Regions from separate parts of the Homo sapiens genome. Here region 1 is linked to region 2. Evidence: promoter capture Hi-C in 16 types of primary human blood cells and fetal thymus (Javierre and others, 2016). All regions are on one chromosome and are shown on one strand. Each heading gives the region's core, a stretch centred on a gene start or on the middle of the fragment in contact. The rest is flanking DNA. Distances are from core to core; before and after follow the strand shown. Region 1 overlaps KHDRBS2 (KH RNA binding domain containing, signal transduction associated 2). Region 2 holds the start of KHDRBS2 (KH RNA binding domain containing, signal transduction associated 2).

The links. The method cuts DNA at HindIII sites, captures the fragments that hold promoters and counts their contacts. A CHiCAGO score of 5 or more calls a contact.
Region 1: a contact is called between a fragment that was not itself captured here and the fragment with the promoter of KHDRBS2 in region 2, in 2 of 17 cell types (erythroblasts and naive B cells). The highest score is 6.1, in erythroblasts.

The regions. Positions count from the first base shown.
Region 1 is chr6:61,820,750-61,827,275 of GRCh38, forward strand. All of the region lies in intron 6 of KHDRBS2 (KH RNA binding domain containing, signal transduction associated 2), which reads right to left. Among named protein-coding and RNA genes, the nearest start is that of KHDRBS2, 460 kb to the right of the region's middle. The HindIII fragment of the contact is 712 bases long and covers 3,390-4,101 here.
Region 2 is chr6:62,281,560-62,287,751 of GRCh38, forward strand. It overlaps KHDRBS2 (KH RNA binding domain containing, signal transduction associated 2), which reads right to left and starts at 4,666. Exons shown (of 9, transcript NM_152688.4): 1 at 4,299-4,666. The coding sequence starts at 4,389. RefSeq lists a silencer at 4,526-4,615. The HindIII fragment of the contact is 7,395 bases long and covers 1,347-6,192 here.

The DNA.
Region 1 (6,526 bases), core at 2,496-4,995, 460 kb before region 2:
TGCTGGCAGATTTCTTATGGTCTTCTCCATGCATGTGGGACACATTTAGTCAAACTATTTATTAGGTCTGTGGTTTTTAATAACAGGTTATTTTGGAGATAAATTGAATGGTAGTAAACAACAGATAATTGAGAGAATCAATGTGCTACCTGGATAGCCATATACGTGTGGCACCCTTTCCTTTTATGTTTCTTACATCTACTCTAATGGGGCTGACTAAATTCCTACTGACTGTGTGAGGAGAATTTCACTCAGAATTGGGAAATCTGTATCGAATGACTATGTAAGCTGAATGAATTGAGATTTAAACCTGTTTGTCTATTATTTTTTCCCTTGGTTCCATAAGATTAAGCATTATTAGAGATATCTATGTTTCCTCATCAATTAAACAACTGCACCCCTCAGGAACCTGAATACTTGACTTTCAACTCTCTCTTACTTTAGAGGTTTTCAAAATGTAGCTTGTGGACCACCTCTGTTAGAATCTACTGGGGTGCTATTTAAACAATATAAAAACCTGGGTCCTACTAGCAAGACATCTTACATCAGGAAGTGTAGATTAGGGTTTGCAACATTGCATTTTAGTAAACTTTCAAGATAATTTTTATATTTGCTAAAATTTAAGGATTGCTTTAATGTCCTCTGTAGAACTTGTGTAATTGCACTGCATCATTAGTGGACACAGGATATGAGTGAGGACTCAGCTGGATCTATGTGGAAACATTTTAATGCTAATGCACAGGTATCAATGACTTAAAATGCTGAGAGCGTATAAAAGGTAAGATGACACTTCTAAGATCAACTATCTGAATTGAAGATGAAAGTTCTGTTGGCAAGCAGACTCTTTCTATCTTTCCTTGGCTATGTTCCCACTACGCATCTGCAGGTTGCTAGAGTGATGAGTGTTGGAGACTCATTTTACTGCTGCAATAAAGTTTTTTTTTCCACTTATAAGCCTTGGAAACTATGAATTTATTTTAGCTAGGTTTTAGATGTCCTATGGATTGCTTCCATTTTTAGTGGGTGTCACATTGTTAAGATTTTTTTTTCCATTAGAGACCAATGACTGGTATTTCTGTTAGAGTAAGAATTCAACATAGTACAGATTATATAGGTGTCTGAAGTTGTTTAAGGCTTGAACCTACTAGTATGCACACTCCAGATAAAAATGTCTTCATTTATGTAGTCAGAAGACATAGTTGACCCATTGTGTCAAATTTTCTAAAGAATTTTCATGAATTCCCTTGAATGTGTTTATTTGAGATTCTTCCATTTTCTCTTTTCTTAAAATACTCTCAGAAACAAAATTACCTGATTCATTTCAATGACTTCCATAGCCATCTCTAGGGATAAACACCAGGTGTATGGTTCCAAACCAACTTTTTCTGATAAACTTTAGACCTGTATTGCCCACTGCCAATTAGTTATCTTTTCTAGGCTAACCTATAGGTACCTCCAAATCAGTCTATCGAAAACGAAGTTCATCTTCTTTTCCCAAATTGTTTCTTCATCCTACTGTAGCCTATCCCAGCAAATTATGTCGACATTTACCCAGTTTTCCAAGTCAAGAAGACTGAACACTCTAACCTCCTCCCTTTGTATATCCAGTTAATCACTGAGTCCTGTTAACTTTATTCTCTAAATATTTCATGAATCTCTTGACTTTTCCTCAACTCCAGTACCTTCAGCCTTGTATTAGATCGCCATTTTCTATCATCTTCATCAGTGCTTCAATGTTCTAATGTGGTTTCCTTTTCAATCTTCTACTCTTCTCACTAATTCTCCACAAAACTCAGGTCTCATTCTAGCATACTTAAAAATCTTCTCATGGTTTTCCATGATTCTTAGGATGAAGTCTAACTTCTTAAATCACCCTAAAATTTTTCTTATTTATTTATGTGGCCCTAGCTTAACTCTCCAGCTAACCTATTTCTATTCCCTACTCTAGGCTTTTGTGTTCAGTTCTCTGCACTATGTCAGCAATGTAGTCTTACAAACAAGCTCTCTCCTTCTCAGACTCTATCTTCATTCTCTAAGCTGTGACATGGGCTATAACCTCAACTAAATACTCTCTCACATCCCCTCAGAAGAGATCAGTGTCTCTTTTCTCTGTACCCATGATAAGTCATATTATTTCTACTACAATCCTTGAAACAGTGTATCATAATTAGCTCTCTGATTTGTAACTCTATATTCCACCAGTTGGTCATCTCCATAAGGACAGGCACCATTCCTATGTGGGTAGTTTTTTTTTACTATTAAATCTCCAGTGTCTGACACAATGCCTAGGTTAACATATATATGCTAAATGATGCATGATGGGGTCATTCTAGCTGATAGGTGTTGGTTGCTGGGTTTTACTGAGTTAAAGTAAATTCTATGTTTCTGACTAGACTCAGTTGCAAAGGGGCCATGAGAATGCTTTAATATTCCACCACAACCAAGGAAGGAGGGTTGGGGAGACATACATAACACATTGCTGACATCTCTTAGTTCTCACTAAAGGTTTTCCCCAGATCATCAGTGAGGAAAAATTCAGTTTATATTGGAACCCTATAAAAAGTTGTATATAATTTTTGATATTAAGCTAAAACCAAATACATTTTCTGATAAAGCATGTGTATTCAGTCTTTTGCAGAATATCATTGCTATTCTTTACACAAATTTTATGTAAAGAAGTCCTCTCTTTATATAAAAAGATTGCAGAGATTGGGAAGAATTTATCTGATGGTTAAAGACATAGTCTAATGTGCCAAGTGAGCAAGTTCAGAAATAGAATATTTCTTCCAGGATATTGTCTTAGTATGCGATATTTCTCTCAGAACATGATACTCATTATAACAAATCAGTTCATTTTATGATTATCCTCATCAGTGAGGTAATTGCTTCAAAATGGTTTTCCATTATCTATTGCTTTTCCTGAATGTTGGGATGTATTGACGAATTGTTGCTTCCTTGTAACATACATTTTATCTTCTGAGTATGTCGATTTAAGATGACCTTGTACCTGAAGTAAAGGTTGTTCAAATTTACAGTTTTCAAAAATGTGTGGCTACTCAAAATTTGCAGATTATAAAATTAAAACTGAGAAATCAAAAACCAGTAAAACATGTATATGAGTCTCTTAATGAAGAAATAATGTCTGAAATAACATGCTCCAAAATGTGAGATCCAAGTTAAATCATGTAGAAATATTAACAATCAATTCTTTTTTAATTTGGTGACACAAAAACCAAACAGAAAATATTTACTTTTATCTTCAGAGTTTTCCCAAAAGAAAATTTTTTAATTTTAATAATACAAGATATGCATGACTTTAAAAGTTCAAAGAGTATTGTCAGAGCACTAAGCAGTTGTGTTTACAATAAACAAAGCTCTGAATCTGGTAAAGCTTATGCTCCAATTTTTATTCATCTTGTCTAGTCAAATGATATGGTTTGGCTCTGTTCCCACCCAAATCTCATGTCAAACTGTGATCCTGAGTGTTGGAGGGCCTGGTGGGAGGTGAATGGATCATGAAGGTGTTTTTCTAATGGTTTTGAACCATCCCCCTTGTGCTGTCTCGTGATAGAGTTCTCACAAAATGGGGTTGTTTGAAAGCGTGTAGCACTCCCCCTTCATGCTCTCTCTCTCTCTCCTGCTGCCATGTGAAGATGTGCTTGCTTCCCCTCAGCCTTCTGCCATGATTGTAAGTTTCCTAAGGCCTCCCAGCCATGCTTCTTGTTAAGCCTGTGGAACTGTGAGTCAATTAACCCTCCTGTCTTCATAAACTACCGAGTCTCGGGTAGTTCTTTATAGCAGTGTAATGGACTAAGACATCAACATCTGTTGAAAGTGCAGGATTCTACTTTGCCCTAAAATTGGAACATGGAAAAACATGCATTTTAGAATTTCCACTTTCAAATGCCTCAGGAAATTTAAGATACTTTGAAAATTTCATATAACATACATAACTAGGGAGGCTTTAAGTTTTATTAATATGACATTAAATCATTTCTGTTTGTTATAGATAACAGTATAATATGGTCAAATTCAGTTGTTAAATTGATTGTCTGCAAATACCTGCTTATGCACAATATTTAAATATTTACCAGAAATCTAAGCTTCCTAAAAATCAAATTTACTACACATTTTAAAAACAAGAGTAGTACATTAATCATAGTCATGTCATTCAAATGGCTAATTGTCCACATTGCCAAATATTCACCAGTATTAAAACTGGGAAAATTCCTATGCTATAGGTTATTAAAATCTATCATTTCACAATTCTTATCTGGAAAATTTTCAGAGATACAGACCTTTTTATCACAAAGTTAATCTTCATTTTAATATTTATGTTATTTTAGCTGAAATCAAGGAGGAAATTATTTCATTAGACAAAAGCATGTAGAAAAAGAATATATAGTCTGAAAATGAAACTAATTTATGCTAAAACAGTATTTCTATAAAATGTCATTGCAGCCTTTAAAAATTATGTTTTTCAAAGAATTGTCATCTGACAAAGTGCACATTTTCTTTCTTGTGAAATGAAATGAATTATCAATTTAAAATAGTGTTTCCATAGGCAAAACATATTCTGAGTCCTTGGGATTGATGGTGTAAATGCTGAATTTGCTCACATAAATAGCTGCCATAATTCTGCATCTAATCATGCTTAATCCTCTAATATACCTCTAAATTTCTAGCTCTGACAAATAGCACGCCAACCTATGTGTACTTACACCAAAATTATCCTAAATATTTTTTGTAGTTAGTTTGATTTTGAGTAGAAAATGCATTTCTTCTTTAAAGGTCTTAAAAGTAAATGAACGCAGTTAAGAGGGTTGTAAAAATTCATCTAAGAAAAATCATTCCTTTTGATCTGTTGACATAGTTACCGTTTAAAATTTATATGTGCTTGTGGTCATGCAACAAGTCCCCCATAAGGGTGTGGCACATTATAATGGCTAGGAACACAGACACTGCAGCCCAAGAATCTGGGTTCAGATGGTAGCTCCACCATCTGTTGTCTATGTGGGCTAGGGAAAGCGACTTTACCTCTTTGAGTCTTGGTGTCCTCGTGTACTCAATGGGGATGATGAGAATAGAACCTAGTTCACATCACTGTATGAGGATTAAATTAAATAAGTCAATATTTAAAAAATTTTTAGAGCAGTACCTGCCACATACTAAGCATTGTAAAACTGATGGTTAAATAACTTTGTAAGAAGCAGTGCTAGATTCGGATGCCAACACTTGGATGATTTCTCTGTCTTGGAGGGACAGGACATTCTTAACCTGACAACATAGATGTAAAAATACTTCTGGGTTGCAAATAATCAAAGAAGGAGTTTTCCAAATATTTTATTTTTCCCCTAAATTATTTTAGTCCTTGGACCTGGTCTTCATGTAAAGAACTGTGGCATTTTTTAGGGGTTTTATGGGCATATTTTAGGTTTTGCTTCCCATAGTTAAAATTTGTCTCATCCACTCTTCTCTGTACACCAGGAGACCTCTCTAGACTGCTCTGTTAAGACACCCAAGCTCTCTTAACACCTGGCTTTCTCCTATGTTAAGCCAGGAGCAGGCACTGGCAAGAAATCAGAGGGAAGGAAGGGAAAAAGATGAGGATGTATATCTCCCTCTGCCACATCTGCTCTCTTCTGATGGGCCAAGGTTTGACAGTGGCTCCTGTCTGATAGCCAGTCTCTCATGGTGGCTGCTTTTACAGATTTCTTAACATTGCCTCCTGCTTGCCCTTTCAGAGAAGGGGTTTTAAAGCTTCCTGCTGTTACTGGCTTCTGGCTACTTCACCATCCCTAGTTGAAATGGACCCTTTGTTGAGCTCTTTTCATTTACCCCAGTGAGTGTGTCATCTGGTCGATGCTAGCAACCTGCCCCATACAGGTAGTATTCGTTAATTAGTTATAAATTTGACCTTTTTGGCCTCTAAAGAAACTCACGTTGAGTGTTTAAAATAATAGGATGATTCACTATTTCCTATCTGCCCTTGAAACAATTATTTGTATAAAATGCAGTGGCTCTTTGGGAGACATTTCTACTCACAAACCCTTACCATAAAATTTGGGAAGTTTTTTGAAAGCAGAGGACTTTCATAATTTTTTTAGTGTGAGTTACAGAACCCAAAGCAATATTAAAGGTGAACACATCCTAACACGACATAGCTAGCTAGAAGATGCCAAGGCCTGTGTTCTTTTCCTCAATTATTCGATATCTATCAGAACATAATTTTAGCAAGGAAATAATTGAGACTATATAAAATTATATCAACTGTTTACTTCATTAGAAAATATATGACAGCCATGTCAATGATTATTTCAATCACCTCGTGCTGGAAGTATATACATTTTGGGGTTTCAGGGAAGCATATTTAGAACAAACAAATGTAAGTTATAGTTTCACCCATTAGGTAATAAACATCATTAGGTCATTCTTTGAATAGCTCTGCACTAGACGACTTGCAAAGCCCAGGATTCACCGTGGTGCTCAAAATGCACAAAGTCCCTCTCTTCCTCTAGGTTACAGT
Region 2 (6,192 bases), core at 3,416-5,915:
CAGTGAGCCAAAATCGCACCACTTCACTCTAACCTGGGCAACAGCGCAAGGCTCTGTCTCAAAAATAAAATAAAATAAATTTTTAAAATACGGCTTATGTTATCACAAGCATCACAAGCAGAAGTTGTTTTTTGTTTGTTTGTTTTTGTTTTTGTTTTTTCATCTTAAAAGAACCCTGCCTGGTAGGTATCACTTTTCCTGTTATATAGATGAAGAAACTGAGTATCAGAGAGGTGGAAAAAAAATGACACATCCTTTATTTCCCAGTAGGTAGAAGTGTCAATAATCACTCCCAAGTGTTTTTCTTGTCAAAGTAGAAATTTTCCACTATATCATAAATTGTCTTAATTGAAGATCAAAGATAACTTGAATTTAATTTTTTGCCCATGTTTGTTTTGTATTTAAGAAACATAAGATTATCCCAAGTCTATTGGGAGAAAAAGGTGATTACGTTAATCAAAAGAAAAGTCACTTTAAAGAGTCACAGGAACACTATTTTTTAACCAGAAGCTGTTTTAGACATGACACTAATAACTTTCCTTAATTAAAAAACTTATCAAGCTTTATGAAAAATATTTAAGAAACACGATCTAACTAAAAAATGGTTCTTATTGATAATCTAAATGTAGTTAACTCACAAGTTTGCATGTGTGGTAAGTATTAATCCCTCTTTTCTTAATATTTTTAAGATCTCATTTATATCTGCAGAAATAAAGGCCAAGTCTAGATGGCAGGTCAAACTTTTTACTAAAGTTTGAAAATAGCGCCTACAGTTTTTTGAAAACCATTCGAACTGCTGGAATATTTGGCAATATTTGACATCGTCATATAATGAGTCAACCAAAATGGTTATGATTATTTCAGTGCTTGCAAAGATTTCAGGCTAGAAAATCTTCCCCAAACCTCTCTTAATTGGACAAAAATTTATAATGCTCCTAGGAGTATGGAATCACCATAACTGAATATATAAATCTGAACAGATCTATGTCTGTCAGCAGACACAGAATATTTCCAGATAATATTTTCATGTATATACATTTTTGGCCTCAAACATTAATAGTAGTTCAATAGACTTAAGAACATAAATCTGTCCCCAGTACCCAAAATAAAGTATATGCCTCAAATTACATTTTAGTGCCATAAATATATTATTAATCATTAAACTAGGAAAGAATGAAAAAAGTTTCAAAAATGTGCAGCCATTGAATTTTTGTTCCGAATATACAAACATCACTTCGTTGTATCATCAGTAGCCTGAGACTTAATTAGAATTGCAAAAAAACATATACATCACTTAGTCCAACTCCTTAATTTGAGAGACAAGGAAACTGGGCCCAGGGAAAGAAAGCTTACCCAGATTCAGTTGAGGTTAAAGTGGAATTCAAATCTAGGTATCTAGATTCACAGTTTAATGCACTTCCCAGAAGCAGAAAAGATATAAATAAACTTATGTAATTTCATCTGGCAACCAAATTCAGACACTGAGTAGAACTTTAAGGATAGTCCTGAGTTTGCTGTTTTATCATATTCAAAAGCACCTACCATAACAAGTGGATAACTAAACAACATTATAATCGCAGGATGAACATTATTTTAATTATTTAAGCATATTATAAACAAACTTCAAACTACATTATTCAAGAACTCTTCTGAGTAACAATCAACTGAAATCATTCTCATTGAAAACACACAGCACAAACAAGTGAAATAAAACAAACTACAATGGACCCCCCAAAAACCCCAAATAAACATCCAACTAGTACTTTCAACCCCACAGCCTTCAATTCTACATGAAGCACTGTCAATTGAGCACTGATTTGCCTGTATCACCAATCAAAATGCAAAATAAATCATTGTGAAATCTCATTGGTTTATACTACTGCCTTTATATATATTAGCTTCCGGAAAATCATTCTGAAGAACTGAATCATCTGTATCATTTTTACTACTCACTCAGGCTTGACACTGTCTGCACAGTACTGACTGAAATGTACTTTGCACCTTCTTTCCAAATGAATATCTATGTCAGGTTTATTTACAGCCACTCCCTTCAATCAGTGCATTCTCAGGTATGAGAAATAAAATAATCTCAACCATACTCTTCTATAGAGATCTGAAACTAAGCGTGGACATCTTGGCAACTGGCCTTTGGAAAGATAATGAAAGATCTATACCATAAAATATACATTAAGATTATTGAGATTCCAAGAACAATCATCTTACACTCTTTAATTAGCACATGTAAAGAGCCCCAGGTACAGAGAGCTAATATAAAACCTATGCACCCTTTTGCATAACTCTTTAGGTACTCCAAGATTATTATAACCTCCTCCATTCTCTTTTCCTCATTCTGATTTCTCTGAAATTTGGGTAACCTCTTTGTTTCTTACTTAGATGTTTTTCTCTATTTAGGAGCTTTTCCTTCTAATTCTTTACAAAAGCAGGGCATGCTTCCCCCTGCTGGGAAAAAATCAAATTACAAGGTACATCAGAACATGTTCCTAAGTATTATATCAAGAAATCAAGTTCCTAGGAAAGATAAAATGTTAAGGAACCAAGTGCATTCTCTGACTGTTTTACCAGCCACAGAAATACTTATGCACTCTGTTAAGAGTTTCTTGTATGCATTTATTTAGCTTGGCCGTCTTCAAGTACAATAACTCATATTAATGACTGATGAATTAATCTTTGAGCCACTTGTCTCAAATAGAACTCCAATTAGCGGGTCAGAGAGAATGATCAATTTGTAACTTTTTTTTCACTTTAAAGACATATTATAAGCTACATAAAGAAAATTCTGGAAAATATATTGAAGACTATTCAAAATATATTAAAGATACTGAAGACTGGTAAGACTTGCCTTTTAAATCATTTCAAACAATCTTAAACATCTATTAACACATTATTTTGCTATTATTTTTATGTAGTTGTCTTTTTTGGGAAAGTAAAAAAAGTTCGTTTTTATTGACTTTACTTTTCCACTTTAATTTATATTTTTTTTCATTCAGTAACCAAGAAAGTAGTAGGCATAATTGTATTTCACCTTCCCACTTATCTATAAAACTAGCTTTTTCCCTGAAAACAGTTTAGTTATTTCACATGTTCCATGTTTTGAATATAAATCTTTTCCTAATTGTTTAGTATTTAAACATAGAAAAATACCTTACACTTCATTGTTAATATAAATAACAATTCATAAATTAAAAAATATAGCTAATGCCTATTTAAATCATATATTGAGGAGCAGAATTTATTCTTCCTTGGTACAACTAAGTCTCAAAAAAATCTTTTAATACTGAGGAGCTTGGGTAGAGGAAGTTATCCGTTTTAGTTTTTTGCTGTATGTAAGTCCATAACAAACTTAGCTACAAAACTGCATTGTAACCAATTTGATGATGAAGCAATTCATTATTAATGAAGCATTCATCTAAAAAAAATCTGCAGATGTTTTAAAAAGGCATGGGTAAGTAACTACAGATACCATAGGTGTCTTTAGTATTTAGATGGCATTATTATAACATAAATGGAGTAATTCGGTTAATAAAGTTCATGTGTCTTTTTTCAAAAAAAAACCTTTCAAAGCAATGCAAAAAACAAGACATATGTGTTCCTCTAGGAATGAAATCCCCTTTAACATTACAGGTACACAAAAGAAAATGCACACTTGGTAAAACAGTTGATCAATTATAGAGTGTTCCCAGGGACCAATATCTCACAGAGTACCCAATCATCACACTTCAAATAAATGTATAAGCACTTTAGCCTTTACTTACCACATTAACATACATATAAGAACATGCATAGTTTAATGCATAGGTTAATTCTAACACTTTCCATAGGATAGACTTTGATTAAAGGGTATCAAAAATCACTTCCTAAATGCAGCAAAAAATAAAAATAAAAATACCGATCTGTAGCTACGAAGCTCTTAGAACACTACATTGATCACCATTTACTTCCAAACTGCTTTCCCTTCCCTCTGCGAAGTGAAAATGTCCCTGTAGACCGCGTTACATACACTTTATGGTTTCTCTATCAATGATCCTAACAGGTCACATCGCCACTGCCATTAGATCTCCGTAGCTTTGGTCTTCTCCAAATTAAGACGTGGAGAAGGAGCACTGCTGTCCGCCCCAAGAACGGGGTCTGTCCGCCCGAGCTCTAAGGCGAGCATCTTCAGGGGGACAGTTTCTGCGAAGGCGGGGAGAGGAGTCCCTCCCCAACTTCACTCCCCTAATCAAGCCGCGGGTGAGATAGGCAGCCGGCGGTTTGTGCCCATCTGTGGGGGCAAGTCCTACCTTCTGCCAAAAGGCGCGACGCATGCACAAAAGATGGATCCAGGCTATCTTTCTCTGCCATCAGCTCAGGCAAATATTTCTCCTCTTCCATAGCGCGGACTTCGGATTGTCCCCGGGCGAAGCGCGAGGTTCCGCTCGCTCGGACGCAGGCAGGGTCTTGGGGCAGCGCCTGGCTCCCGCGCTGCTCCTCCTCCGCGCGGCGAGGGATCTCTGTGCGTCCTCACTGGCCCATGCACCCAGCACCTGCGACTCCCGCCGTCGGGCTGCGTGGCCCCGCGCCCACACCTGCCCGTCCCTTCCGTCGTCCCTCGCTCGCGCAGAGCCCCGGCTCACACCAGCGGCCTTAACTGGAGAGGCGGGAACAGGACGCGGCCCACCTCCGCCAACCACTCATTGGTGGTGGTGCCAGGAGAGGCGGGGCGCTGGCAGAAGGCCGCGGGCTCTCATTGGGCGGTAGCGCAAGTCGGGTGGCCTGACTGGCAGGAGGCAGCTGCAGAGGGGAAGGGAGCTCGGAAGATGCAAACGCTTTCTTCTTGCGCCCAAGCCTTCCCTGGCTATTAGGCATGCCCAGTTTTGTGGAGTTCTCTGTGTCTTCAGCTAAGGCGCAGAGGAGAGAGAGCGCGGGAAAAGCGCAGGTTAAAGAGAGAGGTCTGAGTACAAGTGGACAGGGGAGATGGAGATGAGAAGTGAGCCACCCGAGAGGGTGGAAAAGCGCCAGGGAAAGTCTCAGGAAGGTAGATGGGACTTCACCTGCGTCCCTAAGGCACAGGTGTCTCCTTTCCCTCACACAGCTCAGGCGCACTCCAGTTGTGCAGGAATCAGCAGCGCACTGGGTCTGGAAATACAATGAAGACTGCATGTGATCGGCAGCTGGTATTTCCGATGACCTACATCTCAGGGACGCAGTAGGATGTTCATTGATAAACAAATAAAGCGGCTCGAAGAAATATTGTGCAGAGACATGATTGAGGTGTACAATCATTAGGATATTGAATTAGTTCTGGTAACCTATCCGTGCCTCCTTTCCCCAGACCCTATCTGTGGAAGGGAGGTTGGGAGGGGCTGAATTTAAAAACCAAAAACAATATGATTCATTAGTCACAGTTTGTGAAAGAATTGGGAAGACATGTAGAAGAAAGAAGAGACTAGAAAATAGGTAACCACGTTTGCTCTAATTTTCCCCTTTCTCCTAGTTTTAGATGTGCCAGTCTCTTTCACCAGGTACTGTTGCTGAGCTACTTTGTATTATCCCACCTCTATTTAAAGGAAAGTTAAACCCTCATGATATCACCAAGCGTGGAGGCAAAGCCCATCCTTCTTTTACCAATGCGGCTATAAAATGTAACTTGCATGCCTCAATCGCTAGGAAACAATCTTTCCCCAAGTCTTGGGTTCTCGTTTCATAAGTAGTCATTTCCTGATTCTTCTCTCCCCCATTATTTTTGGTGTGGAAGAATGAGGGCCAACTTTGCTACAAATAAAATGTGCTGAAATTTTTCCAACTTATCTTACTGTATTTAAATATTTTCCTTTTAATTTTTAGATAAATTCGGGAGATTAACTTTTATTTGTATAATGTTTAAATAACGTAACGTGCCTCACATTGATTATTTCAATACGTCCTCACAGAAGCACTCTGAAAAATGCCAGCCAAGTATTACTTTCTCTGTTTGTATAAATATGGAAACTGAGGCAAAACAGAGAAATCGTCTCATGTCTAGTTAATGCTGAAGTTGAGATTAAAATTCAATTCTATATTAGCACCATTTATATCCAGAATATACTGCTTCAACCTACCTTTCTGTGTGTTATATATTTAATTTATTTGTGCATGTGTGCATTCAACAAATGTTTATTGGATACTGAAAAGAGTCTAGGGACAGTACTTAAAATT